Regions from separate parts of the Homo sapiens genome. Here region 1 is linked to region 2. The links are contacts of gene promoters, found by promoter capture Hi-C in blood cells and fetal thymus (Javierre and others, 2016). All regions are on one chromosome and are shown on one strand. Each heading gives the region's core, a stretch centred on a gene start or on the middle of the fragment in contact. The rest is flanking DNA. Distances are from core to core; before and after follow the strand shown.

Region 1 (5,004 bases), core at 71-2,570, 670 kb before region 2:
ATCATGCACATTTAAAAGGGCTACGACTGTTCCCAGAGGTGAATCTTCAGTCACTGGACTAAATAGAGACGTGATGGTCAGCTCTGGACTGTTGTCATTTACATCTTCTACTGTAATCAACACTTTTGCAGTTGCAAGATATGCTCCTCCATCTTCTGCTTGTATTTCTATTTCATAGAAACCGGTTTCTTCATAATCTAGATTTTCTGATATTTTTATTTCTCCAGTATATTTGTTTAGTTGGAACTTCAACAATTGCGTGTCAGGTAATTTTCGGAATGAATATGTCACTTCTCCATTGGCACCTTCGTCCCTGTCGGTGGCTGTGACTGTCAGCAGCTGAGTGCCCACAGGCAAATTCTCAGGAACACTCACTCGGTATTCTGGCAAGGTGAAGACCGGCGCGTTGTCATTTGCATCGAAGACAGTCACACTGACAAGGACAGTGCCAGATCGGAGAGGGTCACCCCCGTCGGAGGCGGTGAGGACCAGGTGGTGAATGGCCTCTTCCTCGCGATCTAGGGAGTGCTCCAGTACCAGCTCCGGGTACTTGACGCCATTGGCACGGCTCTGAACTCTTAGGGAGAAGTGCTTATTGGGGCTGAGCTGATAGCTCTGCAGGGAGTTCACGCCCACATCCGGATCAATAGCTTCCGGGAGAGGAAAACGCATTCCCGCAGCGACATTTTCATTAATTTTTACGTCTAGATTTTCTGCTTGGAATTTTGGAGCATTGTCATTGATATCAGTTACTTCTATTTCTATCCCAAAAAGTTTCACCCTGTCTTCCACAAGGATATTAAAACTCACCACGCACCGCGCGCTCTGAGCGCAGAGCTCCTCCCGGTCTATCCTGCCCGCGGTGATCAAGCTGCCGCTGCGCGGGTTCAGAGAGAAAAGCTGCGTCCTACCTCTGGAGACTATGCGGACTCCGCGCTCCGCCAGCTCCCGGGGCGCCAGACCCAAGTCCTTGGAGATGTTGCCCACGAAAGAGCCTTTCTCTAATTCCTCAGGAATTGAGTAGGAGATCTGCCGGGCTCCAGCCTCCCATGGAATCCCGAAGAAAAGGCAGAGCAGGACCAGCCCGCTGCAATCCTTTGATTCCTTTGAGCGATTCCTTTGAGCGGCCATTGTAGTCTGGTTACAGAATTCTGCAAAGTCCTCACTGGACACGTTGTGTGTTTCAACCGGTTCCTTTGTCTTTCTGTGGCTTCAGGGTGTCTCTGTAGCCTGGGCACTTTAAATTCTGGAGTGAGCTTCCCTGCAGCCCAGCAGCCGGTTTGTGGGGCTTGTGTAGTTGAAGCCCTGAGAATCCGGATTGAGCTCTGGCTGCGTTTTCTCTCCTAGTAGGTGAACAGCGGCGCTCAGAGTCCTAAGAAGTTACTGCACCCAAGTGATACATGCAATGGAAAGTAAACTATTCTGTTGGATTATTATATTTTACATAGATTCTTTGGTTTCTCCACTCCTATCTTTAAATAATTTACTATATGTAGGTTTCTTAGGGGAGGTGTGATAAAGTGGAGTGAAAATATTGTAAATATTTCAAGATAATGTTTGGTTAAATATATATTTGCAACACGTTTTCCCAACAGAAATGTACACACTTTAATAAAAGGTAAATAATACTTATTTTAGGTCATATTAGTGTCTAGGTAAATTCAGAAAAGTCTTATAATTTAAAATTGTGATTTGAATAGGCCAATTTTATTTAGTATACATTCATACAAAGATTATATTAAATAAACTCATGAGATAATTCACTCTGAAGCTTTATAATTGTAACTACTTAATTCATTAAACTTATTTAGCTTAGGATTGTGTAAGAGGTTTTTAAAGTACTCTTCTAGAATAGTTTTACTGAGCCTTAATTAACCTTTTTGTGTAAAACATACTTTATCTTACAGGGATACAAGTTAAATGGACCTATTTAAATGATTAAGCAGGTAATCACAAACTAAAATGAACATATATTACAGTTGCAAATTAAACTGTTTGCATTGTAATGAGAAAAGAAATACGTAGAATTTGAAGTACTAAAAGTTTTAGAAAACAAAGTTAGATGTAGTGATATAGGTTTTTAACAAGTAAGTGTTTATGTCAAATGACCTGTTTTCATCAGAGCATTAATACCAGTATAAATAATCTCTTCTCTTAGGCAGTTTGTATCAGAGGCCAAAGTCCAGTGGTTCACATATCTTCAACTGTGTGTGCCCATCAACCCAGTAGCAATTGTTCCCTCAAATGCAAAGGGTATAGAAGTTCACTTCTTTCACACAGAGAACAGGATGTTCAGAAGTGTTTATGTCACTATGCCTTCCAAGTATAGAACTCTTCAAAGATTTTATCTTTTTTCTTCAAAAATCTTCTATCAGAGAATCAGAGACAGAGACTGAGTGCAAAGGCAATAGTATTTCATTTATTTCTTAGAAATGTCTTTTTTTTTTGAGACAGGGTCTCACTCTGTCACCTAGACAGCTCACTGCAGCCTAGACTTCCTGGGCTCAAGCGATTCTCCCACCACAGCCACCAGAGTAGCTGAGACCACAGGCATGTGCCACCACACCCTGCTAATTTTTAAATGTTCTGTAGCGATGGAGTCTCCCTGTGTTGCCCAGGCTGGTCTCAAATTCCTGCGCTCAAGAGATTCTCCACCTCCACCTCCCAAAGTGCTGGGATTACAGCACACTTGGCCCTGCCTGCATATTTATTTATTTATTTTAGAGACAGGGTCGCACTCTGTCGCCCAGGCTGGAGTGCAGTGGCAAGATCAGGGCTCACTGCAACCTTGACCTCCCAGGACCAAGCAATCCACCCAGCTCAGCCTCCCAAGTAGCTGGGACCACAGGGGAATGCTACCACACTCTGCTAATGTTTTTTTTTGTTGTTGTTGTTTTAGTAGAGATGGGGGGTCTCCCTATATTGCCCAGGCTGGTCTCAATTCTTGGGCTCAAGTGATACTTTCCGATTCAGCCTATCAAAGTGCTGTGATTATAGGTGTGAGCCACTGGGCCTGTCTTCTGAATATTTTTAGGCTTTAAAAATATATAAATAAGATATCGTAAATTCACTAAGTCTTCGCAAATTTGAATAGATAGGTTACTTGTTTGTTTTCTTAGATGCCAAGACCACTGCTTCTGTTCGATAGTCAGAACTTGACAAAATATTGTGGCTCACGCCTGTAATCCCAGCACTTTGAGAGGCCAAGGTGGGAGGATCACGAGGACAGGAGTTTCTGAACAGCCTGGTCGACATAGTGAAACCCCATGTCTACTAAAAATACAAAAAATTTAGCTGTGGTGAGGGGCACCAGTAATCCCAGCTACTTGGGAGGCTGAGGCAGGAGAATCGCTTGAACCCAGAAGGCGGAGGTTGCAGTGAGCAGAGATCACGCCACTGCACTCCAGCCTAGGCAACAGTGCGAGACTCCATCTCAAAAAAAAAAAAAAAAAAAAAAGACAAAGACAAAATATCTTCAGTCTGGTGACATTATTTTACAAAAAGATAGAGCAACTTATGAACCAAATACATAGTGAAAACTATAATTGAAAAAACATTGAGAAAATATTGTAAAAAGCTATGGATTTTAAACATATGATTCTAGATATGAAAATAAAGTAGTATGCCTAAAATATGAGAAACTAGTAGACTATTAGATAAATCACACACAAAAAAGAGAAACTCACCGAAGTCAGAGTCTCAGGATGTGAAGTCAAATCCTCCCCACCATGAGGTGGAATTAAGGCTCCAGGAGAAACACTGCAAACCATGTCTTCATTGGAATGTAGGGGCACACTGCATTTTAGGAAATTAAACTCTTTTGTACCCGTATGTGCAATGCACAGATTATAAGAATAAGGCAAAGTCCCCTCACTGTAGTTGGGGGGAACTACAGGTCCAGACTTGACACAGAGACCAGGATGGAAGCAGTCCCAAGTAGCAGGGCTGAGAGAGCGTCGCAGGCGCAAGGCAATGGCCAGAATCACGGCGAGGAGGAAGAGCACTGAGATTAAGGCCAAGGCCACCACCAGGTAAAACTGCAGTTCAGCCTGGGGGTCAGAGAGTACAGGGCGGTCGCTGAGGTCTGGCAGTATCTCTTGCAAGTTGTCTGCGAAGACCAGATGAAGCGTGGCGGTGGCAGAGAGTGGCGGCTGTCCACCGTCACGCACAGCGACCAGCAGGCGCTGGCGGGCTGCGTCCCTGTCGCCTAAGGCTCGAGCCGTGCGCACCTCCCCAGTGCGCAGCCCCAGGCTGAAGAGTCCGGGCTCACTGGCCTGCAGCACGTGGTAGGACAGCCAGGCGTTGTGTCCCGAGTCGGCGTCCACCGCTACCACCTTAGTCACTAGGTAGCCGGGCTCTGCAGAGCGAGGTACCATATCGAAGAACGCGGAGCCGTCAGGACCCAGAGCTGGGTACAGCACCCGCGGTGCGTTGTCATTGCGGTCTCCCACCAACACGCGCAGGCTCACGTTGGCGCTGAGCGTGGGCGAGCCGTGGTCGCGGGCCTGCAGCGTGAGCGCGAAGGCGCGCAGCTGCTCGTGATCAAAGGCGCGCTGCGCGAACACCACCCCGCTCTGCGCGCTCACTGACACGTATGACGACACCGCCAGGGGCTCTAGGTCACTCGCCACTATAGAGTAGGAGATGTGGCCATTGAGCCCCAAATCCGGGTCAGAGGCGCTCACTTGCGCAATGGAGGCTCCTGGCGGGTTGTTCTCGGCCACGTGGACCACGTAGGACGTCTGGTCGAAAACTGGGGCGTTGTCGTTGATGTCAGCGACATACAAGGTGATGCTTCTACTGGAAGAAAGAGGCGGCTTGCCCCTGTCAGTGGCTACGATGGTGACATTGTATTCTGGTGTCTGCTCTCGGTCCAGGGCTCCATCTGTCACCAGTTTGTAGTAGTTATTGGAAGAAGAATAAATCTTGAATGGAATGTCTGTTTCTATATTACACCTGACTTCTCCATTTCCTCCGAAATCCAGATCCCGTGTTTTGAAGAGG
Region 2 (4,570 bases), core at 1,217-3,716:
ATGTATATATGTATGAGTCCAATTGTCCAACCAAGTACCAAATGTCATTCTTCATTTCTTGCAGGCACTCACATTCTCCACAGAGGCCTACTGAATTCTTTCTCATCACATGGCTCCCTAGATGAAAGGAAAGGTCTCACACTGTGACAACCTTCCCCCAACCCACTATCAAGGATTCTGACAACTATCCCTTTCCCTAGTACCGTCTTTATACAAACTGGGGATTGGGGAAAGGTAAGGGGGTGATATCGTGATTGGTTATCAGAAAGCTGGCTTGGCCACTAACTCTTGGCAATCAGGTGGAAGCTACTCTTAGAATTACTTCTTTCTGTTTTCAGCATAGCTCAAATTCCTGGGCAAAAGAAAAACTCTTAACCAGATGGGGCAGCTCATGCCTGCAATCCCAACATTTTGGAAGGCCAAGGCGAGAGGATTGCTTGAGCTCAGGAGTTTGAGACTAACCTGGGCAACAGAGTGAGATGCCCTCTGTACAAAAACTTCTTAAAAATTAGCCAGGTATGGTGGCATGTGCCTGTAGTCCCAGCTACTCGGGAGGCTGAGGTGGGAGGATGGTTTGGGCCTGGGAAGTTGAGGCTGCAGTGAGCTGTGATTGTGTCATTGCACTCAGATCTGGGCAACAGAGTAAGATGCTATCTCAGAAAAAGAGGGGAAATCCCTTGCATATTATCCTTTTACTTATTATGACAATTATTATTCTCTTTTCCCTTGTTTTGCTTTTTCAGGCTGGTCAACTATCTGTTCATTTGCTCTCTTCTGTATATGGGTGTAGGGGCATGGCTCTGCCACGTTGACCTGCCAACCTTATATGTACTCACATAGGCCATACAGGCAAGGCTTAACCATAATTAATCAAAGTCTTGGCGGACATTCTGTGATCCTTGGGGAACAGGCTTATGAGGAACTACCACAAGGCCACTTTCAACTCATCTTTTTATCTTCTTGGGAGGCTGTCATGAGGCAGTTCTTATCACTTCCCAGGTTCTGATAAGGTATGAGGCATTCTGCCTCATCTTTCTTAGGGCAGAACTGCAAGCCATAAACTTCTTAGTTGCAAATGGACTCAGCTCCTCAGCAACAGGGTGTCTCATTACTCAGGTTGCCATCCCCTTTTGTATTGGTGCTGTCCTGTGGGAGAGCTGGAAATTCTGCTTATTTCCTTTTGTGTCTATGTAAGTAATAAACTGTCTGAATCAAACAAGGACTGCTGTTTCTTTACTAATCAAAGCTGCTAGGATTTGCCTGAGAATGGGTTCTTATTTTTCCTTGAAGTTCTGTTTCAAAATAGTTTCTTTTTCAAACCTTGTCAACTTGTCTTGGCAACCAGGGATTTGGTTCATATCTGGGAGAGATGACAGTAGTGAGAAGCTGCTCAGAGGAACTGTGGGGATCTGGAAATTTGGTGAAGAGCAGATTTACTCATGGAGTAGGTCTCAAAAGACTCTTACCAAGGCTAACCTCCAGAGTTTCTGTCCCAACCTTAAACCTCTTCAGCTCCTGACCCAGCCTAGTCTTCTCAGGAATCCATGCCGTTTTAGACCCCTCCTTGAAAAAGGGCTCTCTCCCATCTCCAAGAAAATGATAAGCTTGGTGGGGACATACATAGAGGACTAAAGAGGGTCCATGGACATCAAACCTGCCCCCAAAACACAGACAGGAAGAAGCATGCAAATATATCACTGAGATAATGCAGAAAGTAGATTGAATTTGGAGTTCCTTGACAGATAAGTGTCATGAGTTGGTATACCCTGGGCAGTAGGGTCAGCCTAGGCCTGAATGGTTCAAGAACGATGCTGAGTTTTAAGTTTCCTTCTACCCACCACAACTTCCAGACCAGGACACACAAACTTGGGAAGCCCCCATTTGAGGATGCACACCACTGAGAGAAACCCATGTCTTCCTTTCCCTAAAAACTGTTCCCCCAGCTGTGTCTAGGCTCACTCTCCCTCCTCCCACTCAGTGGCTACCTGCCACAAGTCTTGGACCAGCCTCAGTGCTTCCCAGATGACCAAACCGGGGTCATTTTAGCTCAAATCAACTTTCACAGCCAGTACATGAGTCAGACCCATGAAATCCTCCCAAACTGCCAAATGCCAGCCTTGGGTCTTTAAAGCTACCAGAGCTTCATTGTTACCTGGTTACTAGGTAATAACCCACAACAATTACTCCTCTCTGGATCTGGGCCTAAACATTCTGGTATCTTATAGCTCTTTTGTATTAATACTTTCTCTGATTACCTGAAATGATATACCACATAGAAAACTGTACTAAGAGTTATTGAAGAATGTGCAAAAAATTAACAAGAGGTCCAAGGAAAACTAAGCACATGAAGAAAAGTCAAGCATTAACTTCAGGAAAAGTAGAAAGAAGAAAAGGAGACAATCATGGTATATGACCATGTTCTGCTGGGAATTATATTTTGCAAAGGCATAAAAATGTTAACATGAATATTCATCTAACAAAGAATTGTTAGGGCCAGGCACAGTGGCTCACACCTATAATCCCAACACTTTGGGAGGCCGAGGTAGGAGGATGGCTTGAGCCCAGGAGTTCGAGATCATCCCATGCAACACAGTGAGACCTCATCGCGACTAAAAATAAAAAATTAGCTGGGCGTGTGGTATGTGCCTGTGGTCCCAGATTCTTGAGAGGTTGAGGCAGGAGGATCGCTTGAGCCCAGGAGGTGGAAGCTGCAGTGAGCCATGATCGCACCACTGCATTCCAGCCTGGGTGAGAGAGCAAGAGCCTGTCTCAATAAAAGAAAAAGAAAGAAAAGAAAAATTAAGTCATTTCAATCATATACAAACTATCCTAATTAATAAGAAGGAACACTTCCTAAATGATTTTCTAATGCTAAAATAACCTGATAGTGAATCCTATTGTAAAAAATACACACAAAAAAGGAAAAGCCCAGTCTAATGTCATTAATGTAAATAAATGAAAAAAAACCCATACTAATTATTAGAAAATTAAATCCAGTAGTACATAAAAAAGAATAATACAGCATAAGTAGAATTTCTCCAAGATATGAGGTTGACTTAACATTATAAAAGTAATTAGTATATATGCAAAGTTAATGAACTAAAGGGAAAATCATGATTATCTATGTACATGCAGAAAAATTACTTAATAAAATTCAACAACCTTTCATGATTTTAAAATAATCTTAATTAATCTTAAGATTTTTAGCAGATATTAGTTGTATCCTTAGGCATATAAGAGAATATTTGTAACTTGGTAAGGGTGTCCAGGGGAAAAAAAAAAAGCTAAAGCAAACATCATACTTAATGGTGAAATGATTAAAGCTTTCCCTTTGAAATCCAGAACAAGACAGGGATGTCTGCTATCATCACTTTAATCATCCTGTCGTCATTGTTCCAAAGGGCCTAACCAGTGTATACAACAAGAGAAAAATATAAAGGTCTGAGGTGTTCATATGGCATTCTCCATGGTTAGAAAAAGAAGGGGAAAAGTATAAGGAGGTTATTCCGTAGGATTTTGGGGAACAGGTGGTATTTGGTTACGTGAGTAAGTTCTTTAGTGGTGATTTGTGAGATATTGGTGTACCCGTCACCAGAGCAGTATACATTGAACTCAATTTGTAGTCTTTTATCCCTCACCCACTTCCCACCCTACACCCCTGAGTCCCCAAAGTGCACTGTATCATTCTTATGCCTTTGCAGCCTCATAGCTTAGCTCCCACTTATGAGTGAGAAGATACACCTTCTTATATGAAACTTTTTTATTTAGAGTTAAAACTCTGTATGTTTAGAGTTAATACGAGTATAAAACTCTCCTTATTTAGAGTTAATATGATTATAAACATTATAATATCCAGCAAATTTACAGAAAAACTAGTAGGTAATAAGAATAGCAAATTTTCTGAACATGGAAGTAAATATTCATGAAAGGTCATTTATAAGAAAAACAAACCTGACGCTTCATTATAAAAACAAATATTAATTACATCTCATGGGTCAGAAGTAAAATTTTTAAAAATAAAATAGGTTTTAAAATTTAAAAATATTAAATTGGCAGTGAGGGAGCAACTCACAAATTATTTTATAACGACAAATGTTATCATAAAGGCCCATGCTTAAGAATCAGGCTGAAAGTTGCTTGTTCTGGGCCAGGGGTGGTGGCTCACGCCTGTAATCCCAGCACTTTTGGAGGCCTAGGTGGGTGGATCACTTGAGGTCAGGCGTTCCAGACCAGCCTGGCCAACATGGTGAAACCCATTTCTACTAAAAATATAAAAATTAGCCAGGTGTGGTGGCCCACACCTGTAAGCCCAGCTACCAGGGAGGCTGAGGCAGGAGAATTGCTTGAACCCTCCAGGCGGAGGTTTCAGTGAACCAAGATCACACCACTGCACTCCAGCCTGGGCAACAGAGTAAGACTTTGTCTCAAAAAAGAAAAAAAAAAGTTAATTATTCTGCAGAACTTGGAGGTGATCCCAATGGTACCTCTGAGAAGCCACCCTGTCATTCTAAAAAGGATGAATACGATTAAGAAACATGTTCACCAGCCTGGGCAACATGGTGAAACTTTG

What was found. The method cuts DNA at HindIII sites, captures the fragments that hold promoters and counts their contacts. A CHiCAGO score of 5 or more calls a contact.
Region 1: the fragment with the promoter of PCDHGA10 here is called in contact with a fragment that was not itself captured in region 2 in 1 of 17 cell types (M1 macrophages); the score reaches 6.1 in M1 macrophages.

The regions. Positions count from the first base shown.
Region 1 is chr5:141,409,303-141,414,306 of GRCh38, reverse strand. PCDHGA10 (protocadherin gamma subfamily A, 10) reads right to left here and starts at 1,320. Exons shown (of 4, transcript NM_018913.3): 1 at 1-1,320. The coding sequence starts at 1,131. The region is part of intron 1 of PCDHGA1 (protocadherin gamma subfamily A, 1); the gene reads right to left. The region is part of intron 1 of PCDHGA2 (protocadherin gamma subfamily A, 2); the gene reads right to left. All of the region lies in intron 1 of PCDHGA3 (protocadherin gamma subfamily A, 3), which reads right to left. It also overlaps PCDHGB1, PCDHGA4, PCDHGB2, PCDHGA5, PCDHGB3 and PCDHGA6, and 7 more genes. The HindIII fragment of the contact is 11,668 bases long and covers 1-1,773 here.
Region 2 is chr5:140,738,605-140,743,174 of GRCh38, reverse strand. All of the region lies in intron 3 of LOC105378198 (a long non-coding RNA gene), which reads right to left. Among named protein-coding and RNA genes, the nearest start is that of ZMAT2, 40 kb to the right of the region's middle. The HindIII fragment of the contact is 1,719 bases long and covers 1,607-3,325 here.